2 separate regions of the Homo sapiens genome follow, and region 1 is linked to region 2. Evidence: promoter capture Hi-C in 16 types of primary human blood cells and fetal thymus (Javierre and others, 2016). All regions are on one chromosome and are shown on one strand. Each heading gives the region's core, a stretch centred on a gene start or on the middle of the fragment in contact. The rest is flanking DNA. Distances are from core to core; before and after follow the strand shown. Region 1 holds the start of LOC105375541 (a long non-coding RNA gene). Region 2 holds the start of TAS2R38 (taste 2 receptor member 38).

What was found. Contacts are between HindIII fragments. The CHiCAGO score rates a contact against its expected background, and 5 or more counts as called.
Region 1: a contact is called between a fragment that was not itself captured here and the fragment with the promoter of TAS2R38 in region 2, in 2 of 17 cell types (fetal thymus and total CD4 T cells). The highest score is 8.4, in fetal thymus.

Annotation. Positions count from the first base shown.
Region 1 is chr7:142,811,534-142,817,197 of GRCh38, forward strand. LOC105375541 (a long non-coding RNA gene) reads left to right here and starts at 2,664. Exons shown (of 2, transcript XR_001745392.2): 1 at 2,664-4,592; 2 at 5,223-5,664. It also overlaps TRB and TRBV30. The HindIII fragment of the contact is 1,186 bases long and covers 3,041-4,226 here.
Region 2 is chr7:141,972,419-141,977,791 of GRCh38, forward strand. TAS2R38 (taste 2 receptor member 38) reads right to left here and starts at 1,355. Exons shown (of 1, transcript NM_176817.5): 1 at 213-1,355. The coding sequence starts at 1,271. The coding sequence ends at 270. The HindIII fragment of the contact is 7,298 bases long and covers 1-3,452 here.

The sequences.
Region 1 (5,664 bases), core at 2,384-4,883, 840 kb after region 2:
TCTTCTTGCGTATCTCTTGGATCACCATCTGTCTGTCTTTGCTACAAAGGAAGGGCTACAAGATAGTACAACAGGACATTTTTTAAAACCTCAAACATCACCAAAATTTCTAAGTGCAAGCTTATTTTTATTTTTTTTTTTTTTGAGACAGAGTCTCGCTCTGTCACCCAGGCTAGAGTGCAGTGGCATGATCTTGGCTCACTGCAACCTCCACCTCCCAGGTTCAAGTGATTCTCTTGCCTCAGCCTCCCAAGTAGCTAGTATTACAGACGCCTGCCACCACGCCCGGTTAATTTTTGTACTTTTAGTAGAGACAGGTTTCACCATATTGGCCAGGCTGGTCTCAAACTCCTGACCTCAGGTGATCCTCCTGCCTCAGCCTCCCAAAGTGCTGGGATTACAGGCATGAGCTACCACGTCTGGCCTAAGTGCATGTTACCTATACTAACAAAACCACACTTCTGCCTCGAATGAGAACAGTCTCCTGAACATCTTGCCTCTTTGCCTGACTCAAAGCCTCAGGTCTAAGCCTCCCCATAATTTCTAGTCTCAGCAGAAAGATCAATGACAGGAGACTCTCCAGGTGATGAAATTAACCAATTAAGTAACCTGGGTTGGCATCCTCCCGTTTGTTCACCAGCTCACCTCCTGCCACAGGTATATCCTTTCTCTCAGCCATATATGCACAAACCCCCTCCCCACGGCACACATAGAAGAATTTGGAAGACTAGAAAATCAGGCAAGGTATAGCACACCTTGAGGGCTGGAGTATGGTAGCCTGGGCCGGGACATCCATACATTGAGAACTTGACTATGTGCAGGCAAATCACAGGTTCTGCACACATACAATTTTTTGTTCTCCCTGAGAACTTAGTAGAGTCTTTTGTAGAATTCTCGCTTTATTCCATTGCTTTCACATTGGCCAGCAGTCAGAAACCTACTTACAAATATCCTCCACCCAGTCCCTAAGTGAAGGCCCCTGGGGAGTATGGTTAGGGCTCAGGAGAGGGTGGGGTTTTTGCACAGATGTCTGCCCCACCCAGCTCAGTGTGACACTCCAGGCACAGAGATAGAAGCCAGAGTCACTGAGAAGGAGCTTCTTAGAACTCAGGATGAACTGCCGGTCCTGGGGTCTGGAGGCTGAGAGATTCTGGGGCACCTCAGAGCTGATCTGGCCAATACCAACGGAGTAGAAGAGCAGCTGGAGGCCCCTGCCTGCAGCCTGTCGGTACCAGTATAGGTTGGGGTTTGATGTTCCCTCCACAGTGCACTCCAGAGAGAGCGGGCTGCCCACAGGCTGCACCAGGGTCGCTGGCCATTGATGAATAGTCTGAGATCTGACCCCTGTGGGAAAGATAAAGTGCCATTTACAGAGGAGCACCCCAGCCTGGCTTGCCTTCCCCAGACAGAGGGGCAGCTCAAGCTCTTGCATGACACAGGCACCTGGAATCCATCATGGGGAGTAGACTGGGGGAGCCAAGGATGCAAAGCATCCCTGGGCCAGGGAAGACCAACAGAACGAACTCCTTCTCAGGAGATAGAGAGAACTAAGAATCATCAGATCAGCCCCTAAGGCTAAATTCCCATATCTGTTCCAGACAATCAGGAATAGACTCAAGAGTGTCAAACCAACAGCTCAGACTCTGCATTCACGGGATTGGGGTGAGGGTGAGGATGAGAAAAGAGGCTTGCCAGAGAGGAGGGCACCCACCAAAGAAAGTGCCCAGGAGAAGGGCAAGGAGAGAGCAGAGCATCATCCAAGCCAGCCTTTCCTTCAGCTAGTCTGGGGGACAGACGCCTCCTCTTCTGGGCCAGTGATGTGGTCAGGCTGCTCCCTCTGGGAGATCTGCTGCCAGAGCAGAGGAATCCTACCCCATGAGCTGGGGAGGAAATGAGGCTAGTCTTCTTTTAAGAGTGTGGTGAATCACCCCCAGCCTCCCTGGGAACCAGCTATACTCTGCACTTGTTATCTTCTTTGCATTCCTGCTGACATCCTGGTATGTAAATATATTTAATGACTCATTATTTACCTGTAAACTAAAGGTAACTCTCCAGCTCCCCCGGGAGACATCAGAAGCCTGGGAAAGCTTCAGAGAAACTGTGATACTGATAGAAGGATGAAAAAAGATTTTAGTTTATCTGAAATTGGAAACTAGAGCTAGACATGTTACCTGGGAGATGAAAGGATAGGGCTCAAGAGATTCAGGTATTTTGGGGTAATCAAAGCAGAAATGCTCAGTTCTGAGGGCAGGAAGCTTCTATGACAGCCAAAGGGATCGCCTGCATAATCTTCATCCCTGGCAGACAGATTTTGAGACCTGGACAGGCATAATTAACTCCTGAACTGATCAAAGTTGGAATCTGCTCCATGTGTCTCTAATGGGCCAACTAGATCTAATTTATCCTCTAAATGCAATATGAGTAATAGGAAACATCACAGAGACTTGGAATCATATGGATTTGGGTTCATTTCACAGCTCTGCTTCTTGCTGGCTTGGGAACTCTCAAGCAAACCCTGATTCTCAATTTTCTTATCTATAAAGTGAAAATAATGATGACAATATCTAAAAATTGTTGAAAGATGCATTTTGCCTGGTGCACTGCAGGCAGGCACTCTTACATATGTTGGCTTTTTTTTTTTTTTTTTTTTTTTTTTTTTTTTGACTCCCTATGTCTGCAGCAAAGATTGGGAGATTTACAATGGCATGGGGTGGAAGGTAGGGGCTGAAGGGATCACGAGCCACAAAAAACACAGTCAAGCCACGAATTCATAATAGTAAGGATTCATAATAGCTAAGCATGGGACTCTGCTAGGTAGCTGCTAAAATGTCATTCTGCTGAAATGGGACAAAAGACCTTCAGATGCCTGGAGGACACCAGCACACCCTTGGAAACTCCTCTTCCCTCTGTCTTTGCCATGCTCTGTATTCTGAAGGATTCATATTCAGAACAATTACTTAGTTTGGGTTGGATGTGGTGGAGCGGTTTGAGATGAAAACCCAGGAAAGAAAGCCGTAAAAGTGGCTGAACAGGGAGAATAAGCTTTAAGCAAATAAAGCATTTGTAACACTTTCCCATTTCATCAGGGCCTAGTGATGTCATATGTTTGTTGTTGTTGCTGATGCTACAGTAACACAATTCCAAGTTAATGTTGGGGTTCTTGCTTCTGACAGTTTTGGCTGTAGCACATTTTTTTGTTTGCATTTGAATACACCATATGTATAGGGGAATGTTTTGTTTTTTATCATTTCAAAATGGAATTAATCCTCTTATAACATTTATTTAAATGATAAATCAAGTGGTAAATATAGTTTGCTTGCAGTGAACATTTGGAACATATGATGAAAAATAGCTATAGCCAACGCAAGAGCAGTTTTCATTGAACAGTTGTTCAATCTCAGTTTTTAATAAATCTGATAATATAATATCTGTGCATGTTAGGATTGCAGAGAGTGAAGCCAAAATAAATATGTGCACACATAGCCTATTCCTCCCTTTCTTTCCATTTCTGTTCTCTTTCCTCTTTGCTTTTGAAATTTTTATTTAGTCCTGAGTGGGGATGGGGTGGAGAGAAAGTGGACAGTGGGTGGTGGGAGATACAGGGAGAAAGAATGAGAATTGCTCTTGTTCTCAAGGGTACCGCATCACGTTTTCCTCTGGCTGGCAGTCTTTAACACCAGCGTATCCTATGAGACCTGACTTCACTCATCAGCTGCATCAGCTCAGTGTCATTACCACATGTAGACAGCAATGTAATCCTCCTTCTTAGAGATGCTGCAGCAGATTGGAGGGTGAAGAGATGTATCAGTCAGATCAGAGTAACCAGCTGGCTCCTGGCTCCTGATCATTGTCACAGCTCAGTAGCTGGAAGCTCCTTCCATATGGCTGATGCCTTTAAAAAAATCTCCTCAATCTCCATCCCCATCTGCAATACTGTTTAGTTATTCAATCATTTAAGTCATTCATGTATTGAAAAGAGGATGGGGATATGATCCCTCTGCTCTGTGGCAGTAGATCTACTAATGGGAGAGTCCTGGCCGCACATCTGGCCTGGGTCTGGAGGTGCCCTACGGAATTGAAAGCTGGCTGGAACTGTCATCTTAACATGTCCTGGTCATCTTAACGTGTCCACCTCTCTGGCAAGCCTCTTTTCAAGTCTTTTTGTTACCATCTTCAGCTTTTTCCCTCCATACTAGATTCTTAATGAATTGCTGCCAACAAGAGAAAGCTTTATACATGAAGAGAATGGCAATAAGAACTAACTCGTCTTTTTAATTTTAAAACTGGTATATATTCCTATATAATAGGAATGGAAGATACTTGCAAAGCCTATTTGTTCCTCTACAGAAGAGTTAAAAATTACCTGGGCTAATGGAAAGAAGGGAGAGTCAGCCAATTAGATGCTCCTGAATGCCCTGAATTGTGACTTACCTCTTCTTATCCACATCCTGATCAAGGAAAGGGATGAGAGAGAGGTGGAGAGAGAAGAAATGGAAATTCAAAAGTTTTGACGGCAGAGGAAAATTGTGCTTATTTCCAGAATGAGACGAACAAGGTCCTGGGTCCCTACATGTCATACTGGCTAGAGACTGGTAAGTAGAAATGACTTGTGGTCAGCAGAATAATGGCTCCCAAGGATGTCCACATTCTAATCCCCAGAATCTGTGCATGTGTTAGATTACATGGCAAAGGGGAATTAAGGTTGAAGATGGAATTAAGGTTTCTAATTGGATGCCCTTAGAACAGGGAGAGTAGTCAGAATTAATCAGGTGTGCCCCATACAATCACAAGCATCTTCAACATGGAAGAAGGAAGCAGAAGAGAGTCAAAGAAAGAGATGTGGACATGGAAGCAGGCAAGAGAGATGCCATGCTGCTGGCCCTGGAGGTAGAAGGGGGCATGAGCTAAGGAATGAAGGTGGCCTCTAGAAGCTAGGAAAGGTAAGGAAATGGGTTCTCTTCTAGAGCCCTCAGGGAAGAATGCAGCCTAGCTGACAGCTTGATTTTAACTCGGTGAAACCTGTGTCAGACTTCAGAGTTACAGAACTGTAAGATAATAAGTTTGTGTTGTTTTAAGCCACTAAGTCTGTAGTAATTTATTAGAGCAGCAGTGGAAAACATACATGGCTCTAGAATGTGTCTTAACAGAGGGACCTGAGGTAGTCTCCAAGAATCCCCAAAGATCTCAGGATAGATCAGGAATAGCCATTTTCTCATTCACAGGGAAACAGATTAACTGAGAGAAGCCATCAAGCCTGAAGAGACATCGTGTTTGAAATGTGTAAGGCACAGTGTACCCGCCGTGGATCAAAACAACCTGAAGGACAGACAGACAGACACACCGAGGATCAGCAGATATCAGTGGGGACAGGTGCTGATGATGGTGCAAATGAGAGTCATGAAGGAAAGTTAAATGATGACCAAAGACCAAGTACCTTCCCCACAATGCTTTGACAAGCGCTTTTATAAGCACCCTGGAATTTAGACACTACCCGGGGAGAAAAGGAAAGGGAGACAAGCATGAATTGTCTGAGAAACCCCTGAATTAATCATGTGTACCCCAATGCAACAAGGATCTAGATATAGAATAATTTTAATTATAGAAAACAAAATTATATTTTACCCACCCATATTTGATGCCCATGAATTTCACATCTACCTTACG
Region 2 (5,373 bases), core at 105-2,604:
TTTACACCAAATACTTAATTATTTTGTTCATTTTATCAAAACAAACCTAGGGTACCAACATTATTCTTGCCTAGGCCATGTATAGTGCTTAATTATTTTATTCATCTATAAGTGAGTTCATTGATACAAAGTGGAGAGACTTTCAATTGTGTTTTATAGAAGAAATTGGAAGGCTTTGTGAGGAATCAGAGTTGTATTCCTGAAGAATCAGAGGCATATTTATGAAGACTCACAGGCGTATTAATGAAGAGCTCATTTCATGTCCATTCTCAGCACAGTGTCCGGGAATCTGCCTTGTGGTCGGCTCTTACCTTCAGGCTGCTCTGAGCCCAGAGCAGAATGGTCATCACAGCTCTCCTCAACTTGGCATTGCCTGAGATCAGGATGGCTGCATGCCCAGAGGGACAAGCTGCCATTATCCCAACACAAACCATCACCCCTATTTTGTCGCGCCACAGAATCAGTAGGGGCACAGAGATGAAGGCAGCACAGGATGATATCACAAAGAAGCAGAAAAAGGAGACAAGAGACTTGAGGGCTTTAATGTGGGCCTCCAGGCTGGGGTCACGAGAGTTTCTGGTATAGACCTTCATTGTCCTCATGTGCCTTCCCAGGGAGACAGTCAGCATCCCAGAAGAAACCAGAAACAATAGGAAAGGAGGCACAGACCACAGATAGCAGAAGAGAAAGGAATAAAATAAATTGAGATCTTTAATCTGCCAGTTGAGCCTTGTATTGTTATTCATGAATAGCACAGTTGTGACTGTGAAGTGAGGTCTGCTAAAAAAGCACCAAACACAGAGGACAGTGCAGATGCAGGAGCAAAGAATAATACCCAGGAGCATCTGGGAGATCTTCCTGGAGACCCAGCTTGCCAAGCAGATCAGGAAGGTGTGAGAGAAACGGATGAGCTTGGAGCAGTAAAGCAGGCTGAGGCAGGCAGCAAGCCAGAGGTTGGCTTGGTTTGCAATCATCCATAGCATGATGATGGCTTGGTAGCTGTGGTTCAGTGGTTCACTCAACTTCTGGAAGTGGGTAAGCTGGATAGCACTCAGGAACAGCAGTCCATGCAGGAAAAGCCGGCTGATGCTGAGACACAGCAGCACACAATCACTGTTGCTCAGTGCCTGCCTCTTCACTACATCCCAAAAATTCACCAAGAAAACGAAGGCATTGGTCAGAAACCCCACTGCAAACTCCAGGACTGAAATGAACAGAAATGTACTCCTGACTTCATAGGACACAGTGCGGATGCGAGTTAGAGTCAACATGATGTCACTTCTCTAATTGGCTATTCTACTTCTCTTCTCTAGTTGGCTAATCTAAAGACCTGGTTGCCACCCAGTGCAGAAAGGTAAATGTACGTTCCAAGCCAGGACCTTTCCTTCACAAAGCATCCAGCTCTTTGCCTAGATCTATCCCAAAGCGAGCGCATAAAAAGTTCTGGCAGGAAACTTAGAGGGATGTTGTTTCTCTAGAACATCTCTTGGATACACGTAAGAGCTTATCATAGGGTGGAAGACTGATGGTTCTACCTCTTGGGTGATGCAAGATTAATAAATCCAGGTGTTCCTGTACAACCGCCTTCCCAGAAGGCCATAGCACAGCATCACGGATGCAAACAAAACAGGGCCTCAATTTCCCCAATCCAGTTTTGCATGCCCATCTGGACCTGTGGGGGTGGCGAAGAGAACAGGATTTGCTTATGGGTTTTGAGGCACCCTGCAGCAGGCAAAGCAGATATTCTTGGTGATCTAAGGTTTGAAATAGAGTCTCTTTTCATTTGCATTCCTTCTCTCATCTGTGAAGTAATGACTCTTATCACAGACTGTGTTTTTAATATAGATAAATGCATGGTTCCTTTCCATGTGTCAGTGTATGATTGCAGTTTTATTTGCTGTTGCCAAAGGTTTCATGCAATCATCATTATTATGCCAGGCACTGTGCCTGGCAAGGAGAATATTAACATGAACAAGACTAGCACGCTGTCATGAAGGGAGAGGAAAGGGGGCATAGCTGGTTTGGATTATTATTATGTTTATTTTTTAATTAGTATAAGTTCTGGGGTACATGTGCAGAACATGCAGGCTTGTTACATAGGCATACACCTGCCATGGTGGTTCGCTGCACCCATCAACCCGTTATCTATATTAGGTATTTCTCCTAATGGTCTCCTTCCCCTTGCCCCCTACCCCCTGACAGGCCCTGGTGTTTGATGTTCCCCTCCCTGTGTCCATGTGTTCTCATTGTTCAACTGCCACTTATGAGTGAATTTCCCCCGATAAATCCTTTAAGAGTTATTGGTGCTGCCCCATTGGTGTTTTTCGATACTTTCTCTTTGTATTTTTTATGTTTTCTTTTGACTAAAGCTCCTTTTTTATTATTAGTAGTGACATAAGTCAGTGATTACTAAAGATGTTCACTTTTGTTTTATTCTGAACTGTTCATACGCAGATATTTATGTAGTCCTTATTTGTGCATCATGATGTAGCAGTTGTATTTAATTAATTGTGTTTGTGACCACTTCATTTGGGTCATTCATGCTTACAGAGTGTCAAACACAGAATTCTGCACTTTCAACTTAAGCTAATTTTCTCCTTGTCTTCACCACACCAGGTGGCGGTGTTGCACTAAAGGTGTTTAGAAAAGATGTTTGCCTCCCTAAAAAGTCTAGGTAGAAACTTGCTCTACTGCACAAGCAGAGATATATAACTATACAGTTAGAACCATTTATATCAAGATTATAATCTTTTATTAAAAAATAAAGTTCTTTATGTTATTTCTTGGAACACCAGATCCAATCTTAATTTTTCAATAATCAAGGGCTCTTTCAGAGAAAGGTAACACAAACCTTCATTGATACACCCCCTCCATTTGACTTATGTACACACAGTGTTTGGGATTATCTAAGTAATCTCCTTTGCAGATAGTCCTTAGCTATTGGCTATTTTTTGAAAAATGGTTTACTCAGGAAGCTAAAAACAGTAAAGTCAACTGCAATGCCAGTAAGAGCAGTGGTAGGAACACAAAAGCTCCTTATTTGTTATTAGTAGTGATATAAGTCAGTGACTACATCTTTATCAGATGTAATTAAAAAAATCTTAGTCCCTGGATTTTGCAACTAAACAGATGTTAAAAATTCTTAACCTATATAAATTGGTGTTTCGACTTTTGCTGCCATTTATTTTTGGAGATTGGAATTACATTCTTTGGATTGATTTTTAAAAATTGGTCTTTGTTAGCTTGACAGAAGAACACTATTATTAGTAATATCAAACCTCATTCCCTTAAAATACCTTGCTTAGATGTTTCCAATGACTAGAGAAATGGACATACCAATATATGTTTATTAAGAGCAAAATATATTCCACCTGTTGTAATGGGCATTGAGGACACACTGGTAAACAAAGGCGTATTAGAGGAACTGAAAGAGCACAGCCTTAAAGCCATAAAGCTTAAAGTAAGCCATACCTTACTTTAGAGGAAAAACACCACTAGATGACTTCAGATAGCGGAGTGAACTGAAAGAAACAATGTTGGGGGAGAGACAACGGACAGGAAACATACAATTGGGGTAGTGTCAATAGGAAACACTGGCAGTGGCCATCATCAACAGCACTCAAAACAGATGAAATGGCACCCAGGAAGTCGATGAGGCAGGAAGGAGCTCGGTGCTTTCACGGGGAGAGGGGAGGCCCGCGTGGCTGGCTTGTAGCCACAGGTGAGGCTGGAGGGCGACTTCTTCCACTACCGTGTGATTACAATATAAAGTAACTAGTGATTGGCTATCTCCCATTCTTCCCCCGTGATTGGCTATCTCCTGTTCTCCCCCTGCCGGAATTCCTAGGACAGCGAGACAGGTGGGAAACAACAGACCTAGGAGGAGTCTCTGCACCTCCAATCTCCCCAAATAATCGGGCAAAGCAATGGACTCCAGCTTTTCCAGGAAGCTCCAGCTCCCCAGCAACCGAGTCCTCCCCCATCGCTATTTAACAGCTCCCACCAGGTGGCGCCAGAACACTGCGAGGCCTGGAATTCCTGGCAGGCTCGCAGTGCATCCTCACCTCAGCCGTTTAAATCTAGCAATAATGGGGTTCCGTATCTCACGCAACTGAAATTTTAGACTCCACTTACTGCGTTATGATAGGCTGAATTTCCTTGAATCTCACAGTTGCCCTGCGAAGAATGTAGTGATATTTCCATTGTACTGATGAGAAAGTGGTTTCAGGAAAGTTAAATAGTTAAATATCTTGGCCAAGGTAAGTAACCTAGTGAGCAGCTGGGATTCCAACCGCAGGTATTCTGATTTCACCTTTGGCGTTTCTTCCTCTGAGCCTAACTCCCAATCTAGAGTACGGGCTGGAGGAGATACCCTTGCTTTGATAAGACACCTGGTAACATTTTTTTTTTTCCCCAACCTCAGCCCTATCTGAGCTTTTTTCTTACTCTTTTTTTCTTTTTTTTTTGCGTGGGCAGGGGGAGTGCAGTTGCCCTTGTGGACTCCCTCAAGATGATAGCTCATTCCATTCCCAGGAGATAGAGAAAAATTGAGTCTGGATAGGTTTATATCTCAGGAGGCCACTGTTCTGGTAAGGGAAAGGAATGGGGAAAATTTCGCTAGGCTCGTTGAAAGAACGTGTCGATGTATGCAACAGGTTAACATAGCTATTCATAAGTTAGAGCCCTAGAGCATAAAAGGAAATTCTTCAGAATTTTTCAGGTGGATCTGGGATGATGTCTTCCTTTACTCCCTTCCTACAGGCTTCCTATATCTTCTTTGCTTCCATTATACTTTGTTCACAGCACTATTGTAGCACTTACCATATGTATTAAAATATGTATTTGTGGCTGGGCGCGGTGGCTCACGCCTGTAATCCCAGCATTTTGGGAGGCCGAGGTGGGCGAATCACGAGGTCAGGAGATTGAGACCATCCTGGCTAACATGGTGAAACCCTGTCTCTACTAAAAATACAAAAAAATTAGCCGGGCGTGGTGGTGGGCACCTGTAGTCCCAGCTACTTGGGAGGCTGAGGCAGGAGAATGGTGTGAACCCGGGAGGAAGAGCTTGCAGTAAGCCAAGATTGCCCCCCTGCACTGCAGCCTGGGAGACAGAGTGAGACTCCGCCTCAAAAAAAAAGTATTTGTTTACATGGGTATCCTCAATTATATTGAGTTCTTCAAGAGTAGGGATTATGTATTGTTCTTTTTTTTTACTCCTTATTGTATATGACAAGTAATTAGATTTTTGTTGGTTTATTTGGCCATTCACTTTAAATCCAAAGTAATGGTTTGACCAACCTTGCTTTCTTATGAATATAGGTATATTGGCCCTGCTTCAATCTAGGTGAATTCACTCTTCGGATTCTTTTTATA